3 separate regions of the Homo sapiens genome follow, and all the other regions are linked to region 3. Evidence: promoter capture Hi-C in 16 types of primary human blood cells and fetal thymus (Javierre and others, 2016). All regions are on one chromosome and are shown on one strand. The core of a region is centred on a gene start or on the middle of the fragment in contact, and the rest is flanking DNA. Distances in the headings are between cores, read along the strand shown. Region 1 overlaps KIAA0319L (KIAA0319 like). Region 2 overlaps KIAA0319L (KIAA0319 like). Region 3 holds the start of C1orf216 (chromosome 1 open reading frame 216).

Evidence for each region. Contacts are between HindIII fragments. The CHiCAGO score rates a contact against its expected background, and 5 or more counts as called.
Region 1: a fragment that was not itself captured here is called in contact with the fragment with the promoter of C1orf216 in region 3 in 2 of 17 cell types (total CD8 T cells and total B cells); the score reaches 5.3 in total CD8 T cells.
Region 2: a contact is called between a fragment that was not itself captured here and the fragment with the promoter of C1orf216 in region 3, in 4 of 17 cell types (total CD8 T cells, naive CD8 T cells, endothelial precursors and 1 more). The highest score is 5.8, in total CD8 T cells.

The regions. Positions count from the first base shown.
Region 1 is chr1:35,532,251-35,535,716 of GRCh38, reverse strand. The region is part of intron 2 of KIAA0319L (KIAA0319 like); the gene reads left to right. Among named protein-coding and RNA genes, the nearest start is that of KIAA0319L, 23 kb to the left of the region's middle. The HindIII fragment of the contact is 856 bases long and covers 1,292-2,147 here.
Region 2 is chr1:35,473,065-35,476,468 of GRCh38, reverse strand. It overlaps KIAA0319L (KIAA0319 like), which reads left to right. Exons shown (of 21, transcript NM_024874.5): 5 at 1,563-1,664. Among named protein-coding and RNA genes, the nearest start is that of KIAA0319L, 83 kb to the left of the region's middle. The HindIII fragment of the contact is 2,916 bases long and covers 1-2,841 here.
Region 3 is chr1:35,717,174-35,720,320 of GRCh38, reverse strand. C1orf216 (chromosome 1 open reading frame 216) reads left to right here and starts at 1,437. Exons shown (of 2, transcript NM_152374.2): 1 at 1,437-1,614. It also overlaps a transcript of CLSPN not described here. RefSeq lists a silencer at 1,276-1,705. The HindIII fragment of the contact is 2,001 bases long and covers 319-2,319 here.

The DNA of each region.
Region 1 (3,466 bases), core at 470-2,969, 180 kb after region 3:
TGGTGGCCGAGCTAAAATGAAGTATAACAACAACAACATAAATAATGGCAACTAATATATACTGAGCTTTTTAATACTATATGCCAGGCTCATGTTAAGTACTTTGCATATATTTTCTCCTTTATATCTTTAATAACTCTGTAGGGTAGGTACTGTTAAAATTATTCCTGTTTTACACATGAAAAAACTAAGGAATTTGACCCAAGATGACACAGTTAGGAAGTGACTGGGTTGAGATTCAAATGCAGGAATCTCAGCTTTAGGAACTAAAGCTTTAACCACAGATTTTTGGGGTGGGGGCCAAAAGATAGAAGAGAGCAATTGTGGAATAGGGCTGTTGATCTTGATAGGGGATTTTGTTTGAAAACAAATTTCAACTCAATGTTATGAGGGACATGTATGAACATTACCTTGGGGAATGAATTTATTTTCTCACCTAGACTAAATGAGGGTGGTTTTCATATTTTCTTTAGCCTGTGAAGTATAAGTATTCTGTTTCAAGTAGGTAGAGTAAAAGGACTTTCCCCTACTCTTCTGCCTATAAATATTGCCCTCTTCTAGGGAGATGTTCTGGTACTGGGTACTGTTATTCTTTTTTTTTTTTTTTTTTTTTTTTTTTTAAGACGGAGTCTTGCTGTGTCTTCCAGGCTAGAGTGCAGTGGTGTGATCTTGGCTCACTGCAACCTCCATCTCCTGGGTTCAAGCGATTCTCCTGTCTCAGCCTCCTAAGTAGCTGGGATTACAGGCATGCGCCACCACAGCTGGCTGATTTTTTGACTGCCATGTTGGTCAGGCTGGTCTCGAACTCCTGACCTTGTGATTGTTTTTCTTTCTTTTTTTTTTTTTTTTTTTTTTTTTGAGACGGAGTCTCGCTCTGTCACCCAGGCTGGAGTGTAGTGGCCCGATCTCGTCTCACTGCAAGCTCTGCCTCCCAGGTTCACACCATTCTCCTGCCTCAGCCTCCTGAGTAGCTGGGATTACAGGTGCCTGCCACCACGCCCGGCTAATTTTTTGTATTTTTAGTAGAGATGGGGTTTCACTGTGTTAGCCAGGAAGTTCTCGATTTCCTGACCTCGTGATCCACCTGCCTCGGCCTTCCAAAGTGCTGGGATTACAGGCATGAGCCACTGCGCCCGGCCACCGATTGTTATTCTTTTCAACAGTTTGTCACAATCCAGTATCTTTGAGGCTTTTTAGTGACAGTGTTATAGGAAAGGACTTGCTGTTGTAAGCATTCTTAACCAGCAAAGTACTGCAAGATTCAGGTTTTGTGATTGAGTCCTTGGAAGCTTGTTTTCCATCTAGCAGATAATCAAGAGTTAGTGTGAATAGTAGCTGATATGTATCTGTTGGGCAAGTAGTTCCATGAGGAGTTTGTTTTTGTTCAGAATGATCTTTAGGAAAAATGGAAATACCACGGTGAAGGGAAAGAAGTCAGAATATGTACACAAAGCCTATTAATTCTTGTGTAGCAGTTAGTGTAGTTTCAGCAAATCATCTACACCATACATTTAAAAAACTGTACTCTTAGCAAAGCTAGGCACATAGCAAAGGCAGTGAGTAGTAATTATTTTCAAAGGACTGCTTTGTGAGGCAGCTGCCACCTTTCAATCCAACCTGTGTGTAGTTGAGGAAAAAAATGTTACCCCTTTTGAAAAGGAGGAGAGAGGGCAATGGTTATTACCTTGGCTTTTTTCAAACTTCGTAATACCTGATTGTGTCCTTCAAAGGATTTAGTTACCTCCTCTGCCTTGTTTCTGAATGTGCTAACCCCTGCAGGGTAGAACTGATGTGGAGAGTAAGGTGGAACCATTTTTTTTGTATTTGTTTATTAGTGGGTGTGCAGGTGACAGACATGCTGACAGTCAAAAGGGAGGTGGAGGGTGCCCCCTGAGGAGGTTTGTTTTTGAACGGTTCCTGTGAGTTGTTTTTGGGATTGATAATGTGCCTGCTTATCTCATTTTCATGTGGCAGCCATCTTGGCTGAGACCCATTGCTTCTGAGAGAATGCATACTTTTGATGATAGCTGTAGGAAGACAGATGGTGTAGAGCCATAGTTCAATTACTGAATAAAGAGACAAATTTAAGGCTGTGCCTTTCTCCTTGATAATAGTTCATTTATAGGTATAATTATCAAGGGAAAGCTTTGAATGAAGTCTTGACCATATTAGAAAATTGTGAGATTTCAAGAAAAGAATTTTAGCTTCAATGACGGTAAATATTAATTGCAAATTTTTTCTACAGAATACTCTAACCATGTATTTGTTTCTGCAGCGAAAACCCCACCGAAGAGAAGAATTTATCAACTGCTTTTTTTTTCTTTTTTGAAATAATACTGGTAGCTCATTCTCTCTACTCTTATTTCCACCATCACAGCCTTTCCTTTGGGATACAGTCTGATGAATTTAGTTAGAATTTACATTTCTGGACACTAACAGTATGACTCCTGAAACAGGGGACGTTCTGTCTCTGCTCCCTACTTGGTTGCTAACCAGGGCAGTTTTCAAGTTTGCTTGAGAAGCCAAGCTTATTACCTGAGATTTAAGAATGCCAGAGCCAACAGCACTGTCTTTAAATATTTCCAGAGTTGTTCACAGCTTTCTAAAAGTATTTAATGAATTTCCTTCTGGCAATAATTCATATATCCTGTAGACTTTTCCACTCTGCTACTTGGAATTATGAAACCTGGTCTAGATTTTGTGCCAGATATATTAGAATTCTGTCTTTTGAGAGGTGGTGATGTAAGTAAGCATTGCTAGTTCCAGAGCCTCCTGTTTTGGGGATCCTCCAGGTAATACATATGGGAGCACTGCTTTCTCTGCTTTGCTATGATTTTAGAAAGAGGGGAATTGGCTTTGCTCCACTGTTCTCACCCTGGGTAAGCTTTCTACATGCTCCTACCAACAGTGCATTCCAGACTTTCCCAAAAGATTTTCAGTCTAAGGTTCTACCAACTGTAAGCCATTTTTTGTAAAGATTTAATATTGCTTTTGCCTGGGCCCTGGGAGCAGAGCCAGGGTATGGCAGCGTGGGCAGGGAGAGGAACTGATCTAAAATTGGAGTATATTTTCATCTTACCTTTTATCCCAGTTACTTCTAGAATCCAATATTGACTCTACCAATGCCTTTCTGCTTCCTCCTTTTATGAACTCTTTGTCCCAAGAGTATCAACACTGAAAATTTAATCTTAAGTTAAATTATTCTTCAAAGGTTAACTATCTGGTAAATGATGGACCTAGAGCTGAAACTAGAATCATTTAAGATGTTAACTGTCTTTTAACCACCTAAGACAAAGAACTATGATTCAGGGAATGGATGAAAAAGAACTGTTTTTTTCTTTTCGTATTTTTATTATTGAACACATGATGTAACAACATTAAATAACATTTAATTTTTAAAAACTCAGTCAAAATCCCACGAATTAAACATGTGAACTGAGAGATCAGAGTACCTCTTCCTCTTTTT
Region 2 (3,404 bases), core at 134-2,633, 240 kb after region 3:
TTGTCTAGGAAGCCCTTCTCGCCTCCCAGGCTTGAAATATGAGTGGACTAGCCTATTGTTTGCTTTAAGCTCTCCTAGTTTTGAAGTCTCATAGCAAATGAACATTTATTGTCAGAGAAATAAGATTTATATAATCGGTGGCTTTCAGTGGTCTGCAAACATTTTTAGTTGGGGGAGGGGAGTGATGCTACTGACGTCTGGTGAGTATGGGTCAGTGATACTGTTAAACACCTTACAGTGCTCAGGACATTTCCCTCCATGACAAAGAATTACCTGGTCCAAAATATCAGGAGTGCTGAGCTTGAGAAACTCTGACATATGTGAAATAGCTGGTGAATAGTATAAAGACAGTATATAGCTCTTTGCTGACTTGAGTGTTCCAAAAATGCTAGCATACTTCAAGATTAGATCAGTTTGAACTGAAATGGTCTGGGAAGATTTCTTGGAGAGGAGACAGACTTTAAGCTAGAAACAAAATGCTGTATTTAGAATAAAGCAAGGCAAACACCGCAGTTGAAAGAAATAACTTTAGCAAAGTCCCTGAGAGTAGACCGTGGCTTTGTGGAACACAAGAGGGAAAATCAATGTAACTAGAGGCAAAATTAGATAGGAAGGATAAGACAGTGAGATCAGATGATGGTTCTCTAATGGCAGGTTGGAAGTTTGTCCTTAAATATGATATGGGAGCAGGAGTCTTAAATAGAAGAGTAACATAGTGGGTGAGTATTTTGGAAAGACTAATGGTGTTGGTTGTTTTAGGAAGACAGAATAGATTGGAGTAGAGAGAGCTAGCAGAGGGAAGATAAAATAAGATTCTTGGGATAAGCAAGCTGGGCGTGGTGGTGCATGCCTGTAGTCCCAGCTACTTGGGAGGTTGAGGTGGGAAGATCGCTTGAGCCCAGGAATTTGAGGCTGCAGTGAGCTATGATTACACAACTGCACTCTATCCTGAGCAACAGAGTGAGGCCCTGACTCAAAAAGAAAAAAAAAATTCTTGGAATAATCTAGTGTGAACAATGAATCTTGTAGCAATTGGAATGGAAAGAAAGTAAGGCAGATTTGTAACCATTTGCCTTCCCTTCTAGAAACTTTATATATGTATCTTATTAGAAAGTTATTTGTTAGCATAAAGGTGATACTTGAAACAGGATTTGAACTCTGTGGAATGTAGTATATAGGGAGGGCTTAGGGACAGACTGTAGTAAAAATACAGTGGAGGAAAAGAGAGAAAGGAGGAAAAATAGAATAATATGGTGTCATGATATCCAAGAGTTTTAAGATGGAGGCAGTTAGCAATAGTAGAAGCCACTGAGATGTGAGATGAAGAATGAGGGTATTAGGGTACAGCTGTTAGATTTACTAAGAAGTAGTTTTGAAAGATCCTTTTCAATGGAAAAGTGGGGACAGAATCAAATTTCAAGCAATTAGAGAGTAGAAAAAAGTTAGTAATTGATGGCAGTAGCTGAATATTGATCATGAAAGGAGTTTGATCACAAAAGAAAGAGAGAAATAAGACAGTCTGGATCTATTTCTTATCTCTGGTATATTTACTTTGTTTCCAGTTATAAAGGAACTGGTGGTATCTGCTGGAGAGAGTGTCCAGATAACCCTGCCTAAGAATGAAGTTCAATTAAATGCATATGTTCTCCAAGAACCACCTAAAGGTAAACATCCCCTTACATTTGGATAACCGTTTTTTGTTTTTGAAAGAGATGGAGTCTTGCTGTGTTGTCCAGGCTGGTCTCAAACTCCTGGGCTCAGGAGATCCTCCCACCTTAGTCTTCCTAGTAGCTGGAACTACTGGCATACACTACCACTCCTGGCCCTTATCTTTTTCCCTCCTCTGACTTCCTGTCAGGAAAAAATGTATTTTTTTTAAGTTACAAATTTATATTAGCAGTCATCTTGAATAACTTCTTTCTAAGTTCTACATCTGCTATTTACTGGTTGTTTGACCAAAATAAACAGATTAATCTGAGTCTCAGTTTCTTTCTCTTAAAATGGATTTAAATACAACCTAATAAATATGTTCTATATTAATAAGCATCAGCTATATGCTAGGCACTAAACTGGTAACTTATCTACTATCTCATTTTGCCCTTAAAGTAATCTTATGAGGTAGGAATTATTATCCCCATTTTATTGAGAAAGAAATGGAAATTAAGAGAAGTCATTTACTTAGATTCACACAGATAATGAGTGGCTCAGCTGAGATTTGAACCCAAGCGTGACATCAAAGCCTGTGATCTCAAACCCTACATTATATAGTACCTCTCATATTCCATAAATATTTGTGCATACCCGGGTTATATCCTATCCTCACAGGACCGTTGTAAGGACCATCGTTTCCCATAGTGAGAACCCTGTCCCTGGGGGAAAAAAAAGCTAAGCCTAATGTGATATACAAAATTCAAGTTTATAAAATATATAAAGTATGGATGATTAATTCATTATTTAAGAAAACTTTTGTAATATGAACATTACTTTCACCTTTGAAGTATGTGTTAATATACCAAAGTTTGACTTACAAACACATATGGGTTCTCTTAACACTATTTAGGACTTGAGTGGTACATACTTTGATGGAAATTGAGCCAGTTGGGTTTATGTTATCATTAAAAGGTTAGTCAAGTAGAATGTCCTTCCCTATTTAGGATGGGGTCCTTCCATTTTAGGTACACACATCTCCAATACAGTATTCTTAATTTCTAGGCCTAATACCAAATAGCATATTAATGCAAAAAGTACTTTTCCAGAAGCAAAATGCCCTGTCTGTTCTATATTTCTGCTCTCAAATCGAGGTTTCCTTATCAATTCATTTCACATTCCTCTAGAGAAGCTTTTTCCTTTCTTCCTCTGGTGACAAGTTAAGGTGATTGGGTTTAGTGGCTTTTGAAGTTGGAGGTGAGGGACTGCCTTGAGCTGTTGATTACTACCATTCTTTTGTGAAAGACATGTTTGGCTCTACTGTATTTTCTTTCCTAACCCATATTTGCATGTACCTTTCTGTGGGTTACTATCATTTTGTAGATCAGTGTTTCAAAACATGTTAGTTTAGAAATAGATTCTTTGGCCAGGCACGGTGGCTCACACTTGTAATCCTGGTACTTTGGGAGGCTGAGGTGGGTGAATCACCTTAGGTCAGGAGTTCAAGACCAGCCTGGCCAACGTGGCGAAACCCCATCTCTACCAAAAATACAAAAAAATTAGCTGGGTGTGGTGGTGGGCACCTGTAATCCCAGCTACTTGAGAGGCTGAGACAGGAGAATCGCTTGAACCCAGGAGGCGGATGTTGCAGTCAGCCAAGATTGTGCCATTGCACTCCAGCCTGGGTGACAGAGCAAGACTCTGTCTCAAAAAAAAAGAAAAAAAAAAAAAAAAAAAAAAAGGCTGGGCGCAGTGGC
Region 3 (3,147 bases), core at 188-2,687:
TTAGCTGGAGGAGTGTGCAAAGTTTGAATTACTTCTGCCTTCTCCTTCTTATTTCCTTTTCCCTTTTAAAATAGTCATCATAATCATAAAAATTTCTTTTCCATTTTCCCTGTTTTTGCATATAGGATTTCTTGGTGTGATTTAATTTGCCAATTAGTCTCTAGGTTGCAGAATGGTGACTTGGAATCAAATTGAAACTGGAAGAGGGCACCTCATATATTAGGGTCAGCAATTACTGAACTCTGTTCTCTTTTATTCCAAACAGGGCCCCCAACTTCACATTTCCCCAGGGTGCAAAAGAGTGAGGGGGGTCAAGCTTCAGTAGAGTGGAGCTCTGAGAAGAATCCACTGGAGTTTGGAACCCAAGACCCTTTTTTATCACGCTGTTCCTCCTCACCTGGGCAAAAGCACTGGTACCCACTTCACAGGCATCATGGGTGGGCTCTGTGTCCTGCGGAGAGCCCCCGTCCCGGGTACAGGACATCAGCCCTGAGCCCTGTCCCAGGCTTGGATCTTCTTTCTCTCTCTCTCTTTTTTTTTTTTTTTTTTTTTTTTTTTTTGAGACGGAGTCCCACTCTGTTGCCCAGACTGGAGTGCAGTGGTGCAGTCTTGGCTCACTGCAACCTCCACCTCCCAGGTTCAAGCGATTCTCCTGCCTCAGCCTCCCAAGTAGCTGGGATTACAGGCGCCCGCCACCAAGCCCGGCTAATTTTTGTATTTTTAGTAGAGATGGGGTTTCACCATGTTGGCCAGGCTGGTCTCAAACTCCTGACCTCAGGTTATCTGCCCGCCTCGGCCTCCCAAAGTGCTGGGGTTACAGGCGTGAGCCACCGCACCCGGCCTCAGTGACTTTAGTCAAGTAAGCACAAAAAGGAATATATAATTCCAAATTGTGATAAATGCTATGAAGAAAAGGAATGTGCTCTGACATAAAGGGGGGAACGAACGTGATCTAGGGAGTCAGAGATCTCTCCGAGAAGAGATCTGAAATAGGAGTAAGTCGAGAGGGGGAAGAGAATGCTAGACCGAGGGAACAGTGCGTGCCAAAGCCGCGTGGCGGAAAGGGGCGTGTGGGAGGGTAACTGCGGAGAGGGAGGGTAGAGGACGAAGCCGGAGAGGCAGACGAAGGGCAGGACGCACAGAGCCCCGCGGCTACCGCCTTAGGGGTTGTCCCGGCGGTGGGGAAGCCATTGAGGAGTTTAACGCCGGAAGGTGGTGACTAATCAGATTTCACTTGAAAATGGCACGGTGTCTGCAGCGAGGCTAACTGATGGGAAGGGCCCAGCGAATGCCAATAGGAGAGAGCACCGGACCTGGAAGGCCTGGGTCAACGCGGCCCCGCGCGGGGGCGAAGCGGTTCCGGCGCAGGGGCCTGGCGCGGGGCTCCGCGGAAAACCGAACCGGCCCACGTGGGACCGGTCGCTCCGCCCTGCTGCGCAGACGCCGCCTGACTCCGCAGTCCGGGACTGGGGCTGGGCGCGCTGCCCGGGAGCCCCGCACCCACGCCTGGACCGCGGAGACGCCCAGGCCGAGGAACCCCCAGCCCAGGGACTAGACACCACCAGGGCCGGGCGGAGCCAGAGCCAGACGCGCCGGAGCGGGCGCCTCTACGCCGTGAGTCCGAGTCTGGGGCCCGAGGCGGGGTGGGGCTTGGGGCTCAGCCGCGGGAAGCGGGGAGTCACAGTGGCCTCCTTCGAGGAGACTAGGGAAGGATGGTCTCTGTCTCCTGGGGTGGTCTCCCACTCCCGCAAGGCCAGAAAAGGAGGCTGCCTCCTGTTTGGGCGGAGACCTAGTCCTGGCGTGTCGGGGTTCTCATTTTACTATCTCTGAGAACCCTGTGATCCCTAGCGCCACCCCCACCCCATCCCAGCTTCCTTCACGGCCCCATCCAAGTATAGGAAAAATAAAAAATTGGGGCGAGGGGAGATCTCTAGGCACCTTCCCACAAGCCTTGCTTAGAGGGCGATTAGAAACGAACTGTTCCTACACCCTTCTCCCCAGGACTTCTCTGCCCATTGCTGGGGGTGGGGAGGGTCCATGCCACCTATGGAGCGCCTTCCAGTGCCGGCTCCACTTACAATACCCTTCCTCTTCATGCTCTTCAATTGTTCTAATCCCAGTGCTGTTTGGTCAGTAGAATCCCTTTGTCAGTTCAAATCCTAATTTTGGTTAGAAGCAGGTTATGGAGGAGAGAAGAGTGGTGTGGTATGCCCTCCCTCCAGGGCCTCAGAATGGAGCAAGCTAGGGACGGGGACCGCAAGATAGTGGCTGTGTTCCAGAGGCATTGGGAGGGAAGGGGGCAGGCTCAGAAGAAAAGCTTGTCACTGGGGAAGGCGGGGCTCCCTGGCTGGGGTAGGAAAGGGAACCAAACCCAGCTCTTCCAGAACCCAGCTCTTCCAGCCCTGGGGAGTCAAGAGTGGATTCCTGAGCATGGAAATTCACTGCAGTCTCTTCTCCCATTCACTCACTTAGCAAGTACCTGTATGCACAGACAGCCTGGTTCAGGGCTCTATGCTGGCTGACTCTGGGGAATATGATGGAGGATATATACAGGAGGTCCAAGCCAGATTACAAACTGCTATTACAAGATCATTACCACAAACCAAAAATGCCAGTTGAATAGACATTCACTGATCGTCGACCATGTATGCCAGGGACGGATGCAAAGTTGGATAAGACAGTGTATACCCAGCGCAGTGGGGACCCAGAGGAAGGCATAACTAACCGTGCTTGTTTATGTAATATTGATTGGGGCAGTATCAAGACGGCTTCAGAGACATGGGGACATGGAAACATGGGGATATTACAGCTAATTTTGAAGTACAAAAAGGAATTTGCTGGGTGGAGAAGGGAGGAGCTTTGAGGGGAGGGGAGAGGAAGGATATTGTAGGCCAAAGGAATACTGTAAGAAAAACAATGGTGTGTTTTGAGATCTCTGGGCAGTTTGCTATGATGGGAGGGGCAGAGTGGCAAGAGGCAGGTATGGAGGGGTGAGCAGGGGCCAGATCAAACAGGGTGTTGTAGGCCAGGTAGAGGTTTAGCAGGAATTCAGGGAGGGCATTAGGAGTGGTGACAAGTGAAATTTACATTTTTAACTGGAGGCAGAGAGATCAGTGAAAAGGCCGAGGCAATAATCCAGGTCAGAAA